Regions from separate parts of the Homo sapiens genome. Here all the other regions are linked to region 4. Evidence: promoter capture Hi-C in 16 types of primary human blood cells and fetal thymus (Javierre and others, 2016). All regions are on one chromosome and are shown on one strand. Each heading gives the region's core, a stretch centred on a gene start or on the middle of the fragment in contact. The rest is flanking DNA. Distances are from core to core; before and after follow the strand shown. Region 1 overlaps MTMR9 (myotubularin related protein 9). Region 2 overlaps GATA4 (GATA binding protein 4). Region 3 overlaps FAM167A (family with sequence similarity 167 member A). Region 4 holds the start of BLK-AS1 (BLK antisense RNA 1).

Region 1 (2,866 bases), core at 232-2,731, 250 kb after region 4:
CAGCATCTATGGAGCCCAAGGCAGGAGGATTGCTTGAAGCCAGGAGTTTGAAGTTAAAATGAGCTATGGCTGTGCCACTGCACTCCAGCTTGGGTGACAGAGGGAAAGACCCCATCTCATAAAAAACAAAATGCTGGGTGCAGTGGGTCAGACCTGTAATCTCAGCACTTTGGGAGGCTGAGGCAGGAGGATTGTTTGAGCTCAGGAATTTGAGACCAGACCGGGCAATAAACAGAAACCACATCTCTGTTAAAAATTGAAAAAAAAAATTAGGTGACCGTGGTGGTGTGCACCTGTAGTACTGGCTATTTGGGAGGCTGAGGTGGGAGAATCATTTGAGCCCAGGAGTTCTAGGCTGCGGTGCGCCGTGATCCTGCCACTACACTCCAGCCTGGGTGACAGAGCAAGGCCCTGTCTCCTAAATAAATAAATAATTAGGAACCTGAAGATTTGACTGAATTGCTGCAATTTCATGATGAAACTTGAAGAAATAAGGAGTTGCTTCTTATGGATGAGCAAGAAAAGTAGTATCCTGAGATAGAATCTACTCCTGGTGAAGATGCTGTGAATATTGTTGAAATGACAAAAAAAAAAAAAAAGATTTAGAATACCACATCAACTTAGGTGATAAAGCAGTGGCAGTGTTTGAGAGAACTGACTCTAATTTTGCAAGTTCAACCGTGGGTAAAAATGCTATCAAACGGTATCACATGCTACAGAGAAATCTTTCATGAAAGGAAGAGTCAATTGATGCGGCAATCTTCATTGCTGTCTTGTCTAAGAAATTGCCACAGCCATTCAAAGCTTCAGTAACTACCACCCTGATCAGTCAGCAGCCATCAATGGGGAGGCAAGGCCCTCTACCAGGGCCAATAACCTCAAATACCAATAAAGTATTTTTAAATTCAGGTATGTATATTGTTTTTTTAGACATAATACTATTGCACAATTAACAGACTGCATTATAGTGTAAACATAACTTTATATGCACTAGAAAACCAAATATTAATAATGAATGTGACTCACTTTATTGCATGACTTGCTTTACTGTGGTTTTCTGGAACCAAACCTGCAACATCTCTAAGGTGTGCCTGTGTGTAATATCCTATTAAGTGATGAACTGCAATTTACTTAATCCTATAGTTGGACATTTAGGTTATGCCAATTTTTGTTACATTGTAGATGATGTACTTAGCTTTTTGTCTTCTGTTGAATTCTTTGGGGGTTCTTAATTTAAAAGTAACAGATTCCCTGAAGTCACTTATGGTTAGGCTAACCCCATTCTCAGGATAAAACCTAATGACTAGGCTGAAGGGGATGAGCATGTACTTTAAGGCTTCTGTGTATATTGCATATGTACCTTAATTATCTGTGGGATATTCTGAATTCAATTCATTTAAACTCTATTTTCATGTTTTCAGTAATTAATTATAAGGGCAAATTTGTATGGAGGTGAAAATAATAGGCCAATATATATCAGAAAAAGGGACTCAAACATGGCAAAATTAACCAAAACCCTGAACCTTCCCAAGAGTCTGGAAGTCTCTGCCTTTGAGGTGGCCAGCTCAAACTAAATGAAGGTGGAAATCATGAGAACTGTTCTGCATTCTGCACTGAGGGATGTCTTAATCTGTATCATCATGCTGTCACAGCTGCAAAATTGAGAAATGTGGTGATTAACTGTTTATTACAATTCCTGTTTCATAAAAAAAACAGAAGCCTCTGTACTCATAATGTAAGGAGAAATCTGGTAAACTTAGGTTAAAAAGAAAAAAACCCTCAGTATTAACAAAATCATTATGTATTTGTTATTTCTCTGCCACAGAACCTTGGTCTTTAATTCCCACAGTTTATTAGGTAAATGGGCTTCACCTAACGCCTAAAACAGAAAGAACAGGGATAGCCTGGCAATCTTGACCCCAAGGGACTCTACCTTGATGGCTCTGTTGCTAACTTACCACATGATTTCAGCAACCCATTCTATTATGAATTTCTCTATAACCATAACAAATTAGGTATATATTTCCCTAATTTGGAAGCATCAATAAAACAAGTTAAAGTCTCAAAGAAAAGTGCCATCTATCCATGTGGTGATAATACTTATATCTACCTACTGTTTCAGTGGAATCCCCTTCTTAGAAACGGCATTCTAAGCTTCTGCAAGAATTTGTGCCAATCCTTCTGCCTCTGTTCAAGTCTTCTGCCACAAGACTCAAGGATTAGCAACCTTTAACTGAGTGAATTAACTATATGAACTAAAATCACTTCATATACTCAACATCACTACCACTAGGTGTTCTCAACTTGAGATCCAGATGTAATCGCACATATCAAGTAGTATGAAATAAGATATCCCGGAGGTTAGAAAGGATCATTTTACTGTGTAACAAAATTACGTTTCCTTTCGCTGATATTTCAAAAGTAAGGAGGTAAGTTCGCTCCTCTAAGAAAAAATAAGAAAACTTCCTTTCATTCTATTTCACAGTTTAAGAAAAAAATTGGCAAATTCATGATTTAAGGGTGTACTAGAAAAAAAAAACGGGTCCATTAGTACTTAAAAATTTGTGTCATAGAAGACATGTATATTTACCTGGTTCATATTTATGAAACAAACATTATCTATTAAATGCCAGACTCTAGGCACACACCTCATCAATAATGGGATGGTGTTGACTAGCCTACACAGTAATTTACTGCAAACTTTCACATAATCTATAAACATATGTCTGGATAAACACAAAGTCTAGTTAGCAGCGCCATGTTTCGCTCAGGAACGCTGAAATGCACTTTACCTGTCGATGCACTGAGCCGCTAGGCAGGCAGTTGTCAGAATCTCTTTGATGTGAGTCAGCCAGTTAGAGGCCTC
Region 2 (2,800 bases), core at 15-2,514, 150 kb before region 4:
TGCATTACCATGCCCAGTTAATTTTTTTTTTTTTTTTTTTTTAGAGATGTGGTCTCACTATGTTGTCCAGGTTGGTCTCAAACTCCCGAGCTCAAGCAATCCTCCCACCTCAGCCTCCCAAAGGGTGGGATTACAGGTGTGAGCCACTGCACCTGGCCTCTTTTTCTTTGTCTTTCTTTTTTTTCCTATAAAATGGTCAATATTTCTTTTTTTAAAAAATTGCTGGTTCTTTTCCTGACAAACTCCTACTCACCCTTCAAGACCAAATGAAGCTGGCAGCACTTAAATGACTACTTCCAGAATCTCAGCAGAGGGAAGAATGATGCTGCTTCTCCTTTGCTCTCAGCTGCTTCTCCTCTGCTGTTTCTTCTTTGTTCTCAGCTCATTACCAAACCACAACGATGGGTAATGCACCCATTTTCACATTGAGTGTCCAACAATCTGCGTTCACTGGGGACTGTCCCAGGTTTACCACGAACAATCCCACATTCTGGGAAAACCCTCAGTCCTGGGCACACCAGCAAAATTGGTAACTCTACATGACAGTGAGTGGCTATTCAATAAAATAACCATCATTTATGAAGGGCTAAAGCCAAATTCTTCAAAAGTATTACCTTACTTTTCTAATTTAAGGCAACACTAAAAATTGTTATGATGATCCCATTTTACAGAAAAAGAGGTGAGACCGAGAGAGGTAAGTAACTTGCCCAAGATGACACGAGGCTCCTGGAACTGAATCTAGGTTTGCCCAACTTTAAAACCCTGTGCTCCTCCCACCACACTGTCTGGCCATCTTAGGGCTCAGTGGCAACTCCTCAGAAAGCTGGGGTCAGTTCTCATCTTCCCTCCATGACTCAGGGTCAGCTACTATGTGATGCTGGTCCTCACTAAAGCTGCCAGGCAGGTAGGAGAGCCCAAGTAATGGGAAGAACATATAAAAAGCACATTCACATGCACTGGTTTTTTTTTTTTTTTTTTTTTTTTTGAGAGAGGGTCTCACTCTGTCACCCAGGCTGGAGTGCAGTGGCCTCGGGCTCATGTGAGCCTCCTACCTCAGCTTCCAAAGCTGGGACTACAGGCATGCCACCCCAAGCCTGGCTAATTTTTTAAAATGATTTGTAGGGATGGGGTCTCACTATGTTGCCCAGGCTGACCTCGAACTCCTGGCCTCAAATGATCCTCCTGCCTCAGCCTCCCAAAGTGCTGGGATTACAGGCATGAGCCTCTGCGCCTGGCCACATGCACTGCTTTTAATTTCAGTTGCTTTTATGTAAGTGCCACCTGCATAACACGCTGAAGCTATGAATGCCAACAAGTTCAACATGCCCTGTGTTCCCTCACAGAGAGCCGCACCTCTCCTAAAACACTTGGCTGGGTGCAGAAGAGAAAAACCACCCTCTAGGCCAGATTCAAAGGCTGTGGACTTCATAAGCTATCCGGGAAGAGCCCAGAGAAGGCAGGTGGCAGTTCTTGGCAGAGAGACGCACAGGGAGGTCAGCTTGCCATTTGCTGACATGGGAATTTGGGAAACATCACTTCATCAGCAACCTCTACATGGCATGGCTGACATTTCAAAATCTGAATACTGTGTGCATTCACATGGTATTTCGGTTTTTTGTTTGTTTGTTTTGAGACATACTCCCTCTGTCGCCAGGCCTGGAGTGCAGTGGAGCAATCTCACTCAACCTCCGCCTCCCGGGTTCAACCGATTCTCCTGCCTCAGCCTCCCAAGTAACTGGGACTATAAGCACACACCACCAAACCCAGCTAATTTTTGTATTTTTAGTAGAGATGGGGTTTCACCATGTTGGCCAGGAACTCCTGACCTTGTGATCCGCCTGCCTCGGCCTCCCAAAGTGCTGGGATTACAGGCGTGAGACACCGCGCCCGGCGGGTATTTCGTTTTTACACTGCTGGATGTAACTCATGACTTTTAACTTCTCTCTTTTCCTTAACCAAACACCAAATTCCCTCCAGGATTGTCGGGGTTACAAAGCAAACTCTCCCTGGACCAGTCCTTTTTTTTTTTTTTTTTTTTTTTTTTGAGACGTAGTCTTGTTCTGTTACCAGGCTGGAGTGCAGTGGCGCGATCTCGGCTCACTGCAACTTCTGCCTCCCGGGTTCAAGCGATTCTCCTGCCTCAGCTTCCCCAGTAGCTGAGACTACAGGCGCGCGCCACCACGACCGCTAATTTTTTTTTTTTTTTTTGTATTTTAGTAGAGGCGGGGTTTCAACAGGTTGGCCAGGATGGTCTCGATCTCCTGGCCCAGTCCTCCCTATTTTAAGTCAGAGGCCCCAGAGGGCCCTGGAGAGGACCCCGTAAGCGCGCAAGGCCAGGGCGCCGCGCCCCGCCCCGCACTCCCGCCTGCGGGCTCCATTGTGTGGCCATGTCGCCGCGCTATCTCGCAAAAGTCGCGGCGAGGCTCGGCCGGGCCCCTCCTCCCCTGGGGGTGGCCGTCTGGCTCCCCCAAGAGGGGTGAGGGGGAGGGGAACACCAAGAGCCACAGACCGGGCCTCGGCGCCACTTTCAGGGTTAATCAGTTTGCCGGCGATGTGTATTTGGCTGCACCCCCGGGAACCTTCCCTGGCCACCCAGGGCCAGAGGACAATTTAAAAGCGCTTCAAAGCCTAGGCCCTTCTCGGAGCCAGCCCAAGACTGGAAACCTGGCAGGGGTAGCCTTTACTCTTCAAAGTGAGAACAAATGCAGAAGGATTTAGCACTTAGTAGGTGGTCAATAAACGCGAGCTTTGCTTCTCAAGCCTGGGCTTCCCCTCCCCCACAGGGTGGGCTCAATCCAAA
Region 3 (2,863 bases), core at 43-2,542, 130 kb after region 4:
TTTAGTGTCTGGCTAATTCACTTAGCATAATGTCCTCAAGATTCATCCATGTTATGGCATGTGCCAGGATTGTCTTCCTTTTCAAGGCTGAATAATATTCCACTTTATGGATAGGCCACATTGTGTGGATCCATTCATCTGTGGAGGGCACTGGGTTGGTTCCGCCTATTGGTGATTGTGAACGTGGATGTACAAATCCAGGTTCTAGCTTTTGCCTTCATTTGTTTGGGGTGTGTACCTGGAGTGGCATTGCCATGTCATATGGTAATTCTGTTTAACTTTCCGGGACCCGCCATGCTGTTTCCCACACCTTTCTTAAGGCTTTTGTTTTATTCCACCCAGCTCCGAGGGTAGGAGTCAGCTCTTCTGACTCCCCAGGAAAATCCCCAGGTCCAGAGAGACCCCCCAGCAAACCACTGGCTTGATGCATTAGACTTTTCTATGATCTGAATGTCCTCGGCTGACCTTCCCCTTGCGTTTTTCCTCTCTGGGTCCTTCTTCCAGGGCCGCCTTGGCCGTCTCCTCCAGCCCCCTTGCCACACCCTCCCCTCACCACGTAAAGCTTGGAAGTAAGGAAATCTCTGTCCTCTTCCAGACCCATTTAATTACCATCTTTAGTGACTTAATCCTGCTCTTGGGGGTTTGCCTTCTACCTTGAGAAACAACCTGGCTCTCTCTCTTGCTCTCTTTCTTTAATTGGTGTTTAAAATTTTTCAAAATGACTTCATTGAGATAAACTTTACATACCATACAGTTCACCTATTTGAAATAGCAATTCAGTGGTTTTTAGTGTTTTCAGAGTTGTGCAACCATCATCACGTATAATTTTAGAACATTTCAACACTTCACCCAGGTGCAGTGGCTCACATCTTAACGAGCATTCTTGTCTGCCCCCAAAAAAACAAACATCTGTAGTACAGATCACAAGCACAGCTGTTTCAAAGGGGCCACGTGTGGCTGCCGCCCTTCCCTTCTTCCAAGCCTGGTGGGGACACCCTGTCACCACAGTGCTTGGACAGCCCCCGACCAATGACATCTCTTCCCTTTCAACAAGTTCTGTGCCCTAATTATGGGGTTGCTGGGATTACAGGCTGCACCTCTGAGAATTCAGCAAGTGCTTTTGTTCTCAGAGAGACACCAGGCCACGCTGGGAGCGGGGACTGGAAATTGGCACATCCTATGGTAGAGCCTTTGCCAGAGACAGCATGAAACCCACACTGAGAGTTGAGTCACCCTGGCCAGCTTTTCAGGCTTTTAATGAGGGCTTAAAACTGGGAGGTCCTTGCTGGGTTCCATGTTCTGTGCCTTGGCCTGGAGAGAAAGGACTTAAGTGATGGTGCACCTCTTACTTTGATTTGGCCAGCGTAGTTCATATTTTCTGCCATGCTATTTGTTGTCGAATTTCATTCTCACTGTCCTTAGAAGAGATGAGAAGAGGCCTTATCTCTTTTCTGTAGATGAGGACACAGAAGTTCCAGGTGGCAGTGACTTGCCACCCAACGAGTGAGGAGTGGAGCTCAGCTTGAACCTGGGTTCTAACCCAGGGCTGTGGATTTTCCCTTTCTGCCACCCCTGGGCCCAGCTCGCCTCTGAGCAGACAGGAGCCTGGGAGAGTCTTCCAGCTCTGGGTGCTGACAGGCCCGAGTGTGGTCCAGATGCCATAGGCTGGCTGGCCATGAGCCGTTCCTTTACTTCTCTGAGACAGTTTCCTTGTAAGACAGACTAAAATCACACCTGCCATCTAGAGTTGTGGGAAAACATGATGAAACAATCTATGTCAAACGTGTGCGGCTGCAGCCGGGGCTGTGTTGTCATCCCCGCCTCCAGGGGGCCCCTTGGCAGAGCTTGAAGGGAAAACAGGAGGAGGCACTCCAGTCCCAGCTCAGACCTGCTCTCCTGAACTGGCGCAGCCCTCTGTGCCTTCCCGGGCAACCGCCGTCCTCCCGACTAACTCCACACAGGACCAGCAAAGACATATCTTCATTGCAAATCTCTAAAAAGATTAATTTATAAAAAGCTTCTTAGCCATCAGAAACCAGAGGACATTATGCTAAGTGAAATTAGCCACTCACAAAGGACAAATACTGTGTGATTCTACTTCTGTGAGGTTCTTAGAGTAGTCATACAGACAGAAAGTAGAAGGGTGGGTGCCAGGGGCTGGAGGAGGGGGATGGGGAGTTAGTGTTTGATGGATGCAGTTTCTGTTTAGAACGATAAAAAGAGCTCTGGAGATGGATGGTGGTTGCGCGACAACGTGAATGTACTTAATTGCCACCGAGCTGTACACTTAAAAATGGTTAAGATGATAACTTCTATGTTGTATGGATTTTATCACAACTAGAAAAAAATTCTAGAAACAAATTAAGCCTCTTATTCTTGCACATTTTGCTCAGATTTCTTCAGAGTCTGTGGGAACTCGTGTGGATTTGGTTCAATTACAGCAGAGTGACCTCCTAATCGGGGCTCAAGTTAGTGTTTAAGGTGCAAAGTCACCTTTGCAAAATGTCTGTGTGGCCCAGGGAGCAGCCGAGCATGGGCCCAGCACAGCCAGGGCTCCCGCATCACGGGGACAAACCCTGTTCTTTGGGGCAGGAGATGAATTTGTTGATTTGTGTGCAGGGATCCCAACACACTATGTATTGTGAGCATCTAAATGTGAGAACCCATAGTGCATCCTAGCGAGATGCTCACGCTGTGAGATGCCCTCAGAACCAAAGCCCACTGAGGAAGTTGCAATTCCCAGCCCCCTCCTCATGTTCTCTCAGAGCGCAAGCAGGGAGACCGGCCGGAATCACCATCCCTGTTGAAGCTGCAGCTTTCTTTCTCTTTTCACCCTTACGCAGAATTGAATGCATGTGCACAG
Region 4 (2,700 bases), core at 162-2,661:
TTGCAGGGTTCCTGTGGGGTTGGCCAGATCTGGCCTTGGAAGAAAGGTCTGGCGAGACTTTGCATGGCTTCCTATGGAGTAAGAAAAGAAGAGCCCAGAAGGGCCGGGTGTGTGTCTGCTCATGTGTGTGTAAGTTTGCGTGTTTGTGTGTGTGTTTGTGTGTGTGAGTTTGTGAGTTTGTGTAAATGTGTTTGTGTGAGTTTGTGTTTGAGTCTGAGTCTGTGTATTTGTGTGTCTGTGTGAGTTTGTGTGTGTGAGTCTGTGTGTCTGTGTGTGTGTCTGTCTGTGTGTGAGTTTGCGTGTCTGTGTGAGTCTGTGTATGTGTTTGTGTTTGTCCGTGTGTGTGTGAGTCTGTGTTTTTATGTGTGTGAGAGTGTGTGTGTGTACATGTGTGCTTAGAGAGCCATTGGCATGGTCAGCATGTGGTTAGAGGCTGCCCTTCTGGGAAGTTCTGATTTTCTGGCTCCTCACCCCCGATTCTGTGGCTACATCCAGGTATTAAACTCCGATGGCTTTTCACATCCTTTGCCCCTGGGTCACACGAGATTTCCCAAGGGGGTGTAGTGGGGATTGAATAGGAGACAGCGGAGGGTGAGAGAAGGAAGGGGAAAGGAAGCAGCAGCAGTGGGCAGGCTTATCACTGCCCTGGGGTTTGAAGCCGGTTACCAGCACTCATTTTCCAAAACCAGCCTGCCCAGATGGCTGTCTGCCCACCTCAGCGGAAAAAGGCGTTGTGGCATCAGTTCCTGCAGCGGCGCTACTGGGTAAGGCTGGGCGAGGGGCGAGGTGGGAGGGCTGATGTGGGCGGTGGGTGGGAGCGTTTCCTCTCGGTGGCAGCTGTATGTGTGTGTGTATGTGTACGCACGTGTGTGCCTCACAGGCTGACCACAGACCAAAACTTTTCTGCTGAGAGTTCCAGTTTTAACAGGGCCACCAGATGTGCTTCCTGCCAGCTAGAGCTCTCGGCTAAAACCCTCCTCTCCACTCTGCTCTTCACCCCATGGAGTCCAGAAAGTTCTGCATGTGAACGTGAGGGACACTGAGGACCAGTCCTGGGTAGCCAAGGAGGTCCAGCACTCGCAATTCCCTGGTGGCAGAAGGTGGGGCTGTCCTCCAGGGCTCAGAGAAGTCATGTCCCTGGCATCTGTGTGTAGCTCAGGCCTGCCCATCAGCCTGGGGTCGACGCCAGGGCTGTGCAAAGGCTGAGGGCCCCTGGGATGGGAAGTCCTACAGGAGATGTTTGTGGGCACCATCTAAGGAAGAGATGAGGTCACAACAGAACACACTTGCCTGCCGGGTTCAATGGAACTCTTGCTAACTCTGTGTGTTTCCCATGACATTCATTCGCCCTCTCTTCCTTCGGAACAGAATAGCCTCATTCCAACACAGCAGCCCGGGTCTAAGGCTCCATTCCCTGGGCTCCCTCACAGCTGCGTGGGGCAGGAGGCACAGTGGCCAGGGTTTGCAAGTCCAAGTGCAGTGGGTGACCTTGGGGATATCTGCCTAGAGGAAGGTGGCCTTCAGTACCCCCTGACTTCTCCTGCTGGCTGAGAGGATGGGGTGGTAAGGCACGAGCAGCCATTGTGGGCAGCAGGTGGCACATGCCGCCCTTTCTCTGCACCTGGTACTTCACCAACCTGCGCCGACATGTCAATCAGCCTTGGGAGTGACAATCTGCTCCCTTCATCTGTCTTCAGGAAATCCAGCAGGCATCCTAAGAAAAGAGAAGTTGCAAGTGCCCTTCTGCAAAGTGACCCGCCCCTGGTGGTGCCAGCCTCTCTCTGGTGTGAGTGGCTCCCCATGGGCGCGGGAAGTGGGAGTTTGCACCCTCAGATCTCTCGGTGCATCAGGAAGGATCTACCTACTGCTGCCGAGTGCCTTCCACTTTACAAAATGCCAGTCTCAGCACCCCGGGAGGCAGCCAATATACCAGCAGTTGCCCAGAAGTTAGGTTTCAGCCAGGTGCAGGGACCTGTCTGAAGTCACCCAGCCGGGAGCTGGGAGTGGGACCCCAGTTCTGACTCGAAGTTTCATGCCCCTTCTTGTCTTTCCCCCCGTGTTGGCCTCGCTCCCTTGATCCCTGCTGGCAGACACCCTCTGCCTCTGAGGACCAGGCATCAGCAAGAAAGCACCAGAATGGAGAGAACTGTCCCCCAGGTTTGGTGCAGGGGACAAATGCAGCTCCCCCTGGAATCAGAAAGCTGGGAGGGATGGATGCTTGCCCTAGGGGCAGGCTAGAGGCACCCCCAGCACAGCCTCCGACCGGGGGCCCCTTGGTGACAGTTGTTAGGGAGCTATATCAACATGGGCATGTTAGGATCCTATAGGAGCAGTGTGCGGTCAGGGTCATAGGAGGGTGAGAAAGTGGCATGAGAACTTGGCCACGCCGTGGACCTCAGAGGCCATCAAGCCCAACCTCTCTGGCCATCCTTGTAAAATATTCACACAGTTGTAAATGGTTGCATGACCAGGAGGCAGGAGACCTGGATCTAGTACTGTCCCTGCATGCCTGGCCTGGTGTTCGTCTGACTTTGCAATGCTCTGTCCCTCCCAGCAGGCATCAAAGAGTGCTAGGCACAGAAGATGCACTCCAGAAATGCTGTCTGAACTGCTCCTGGGCTGAGAACATGGCTCTGTCAGAACCACTTCACCCTCCTGTTTCTCACCCTCCCTCTGTCCCTCCCCCTCCCTCCATCCCTC

Evidence for each region. Contacts are between HindIII fragments. The CHiCAGO score rates a contact against its expected background, and 5 or more counts as called.
Region 1: a contact is called between a fragment that was not itself captured here and the fragment with the promoter of BLK-AS1 in region 4, in 4 of 17 cell types (M2 macrophages, fetal thymus, total B cells and 1 more). The highest score is 6.6, in M2 macrophages.
Region 2: a fragment that was not itself captured here is called in contact with the fragment with the promoter of BLK-AS1 in region 4 in 3 of 17 cell types (total B cells, naive B cells and M2 macrophages); the score reaches 35.3 in total B cells.
Region 3: a fragment that was not itself captured here is called in contact with the fragment with the promoter of BLK-AS1 in region 4 in 8 of 17 cell types (fetal thymus, total B cells, naive B cells and 5 more); the score reaches 17.2 in fetal thymus.

What each region holds. Positions count from the first base shown.
Region 1 is chr8:11,309,615-11,312,480 of GRCh38, reverse strand. MTMR9 (myotubularin related protein 9) reads right to left here. Exons shown (of 10, transcript NM_015458.4): 6 at 2,793-2,866. Among named protein-coding and RNA genes, the nearest start is that of MTMR9-AS1, 14 kb to the left of the region's middle. The HindIII fragment of the contact is 1,350 bases long and covers 807-2,156 here.
Region 2 is chr8:11,709,933-11,712,732 of GRCh38, reverse strand. The region is part of intron 2 of GATA4 (GATA binding protein 4); the gene reads right to left. Among named protein-coding and RNA genes, the nearest start is that of SNORA99, 6.0 kb to the right of the region's middle. RefSeq lists enhancers at 1,828-2,751, 2,752-2,800. The HindIII fragment of the contact is 9,957 bases long and covers 1-2,800 here.
Region 3 is chr8:11,428,432-11,431,294 of GRCh38, reverse strand. The region is part of intron 2 of FAM167A (family with sequence similarity 167 member A); the gene reads left to right. All of the region lies in intron 3 of FAM167A-AS1 (FAM167A antisense RNA 1), which reads right to left. Among named protein-coding and RNA genes, the nearest start is that of FAM167A, 37 kb to the left of the region's middle. The HindIII fragment of the contact is 1,455 bases long and covers 565-2,019 here.
Region 4 is chr8:11,556,976-11,559,675 of GRCh38, reverse strand. BLK-AS1 (BLK antisense RNA 1) reads left to right here and starts at 1,411. Exons shown (of 5, transcript XR_948956.3): 1 at 1,411-1,786. BLK (BLK proto-oncogene, Src family tyrosine kinase) reads right to left here. Exons shown (of 13, transcript NM_001715.3): 10 at 1,638-1,714. RefSeq lists an enhancer at 952-1,241. The HindIII fragment of the contact is 8,296 bases long and covers 1-2,700 here.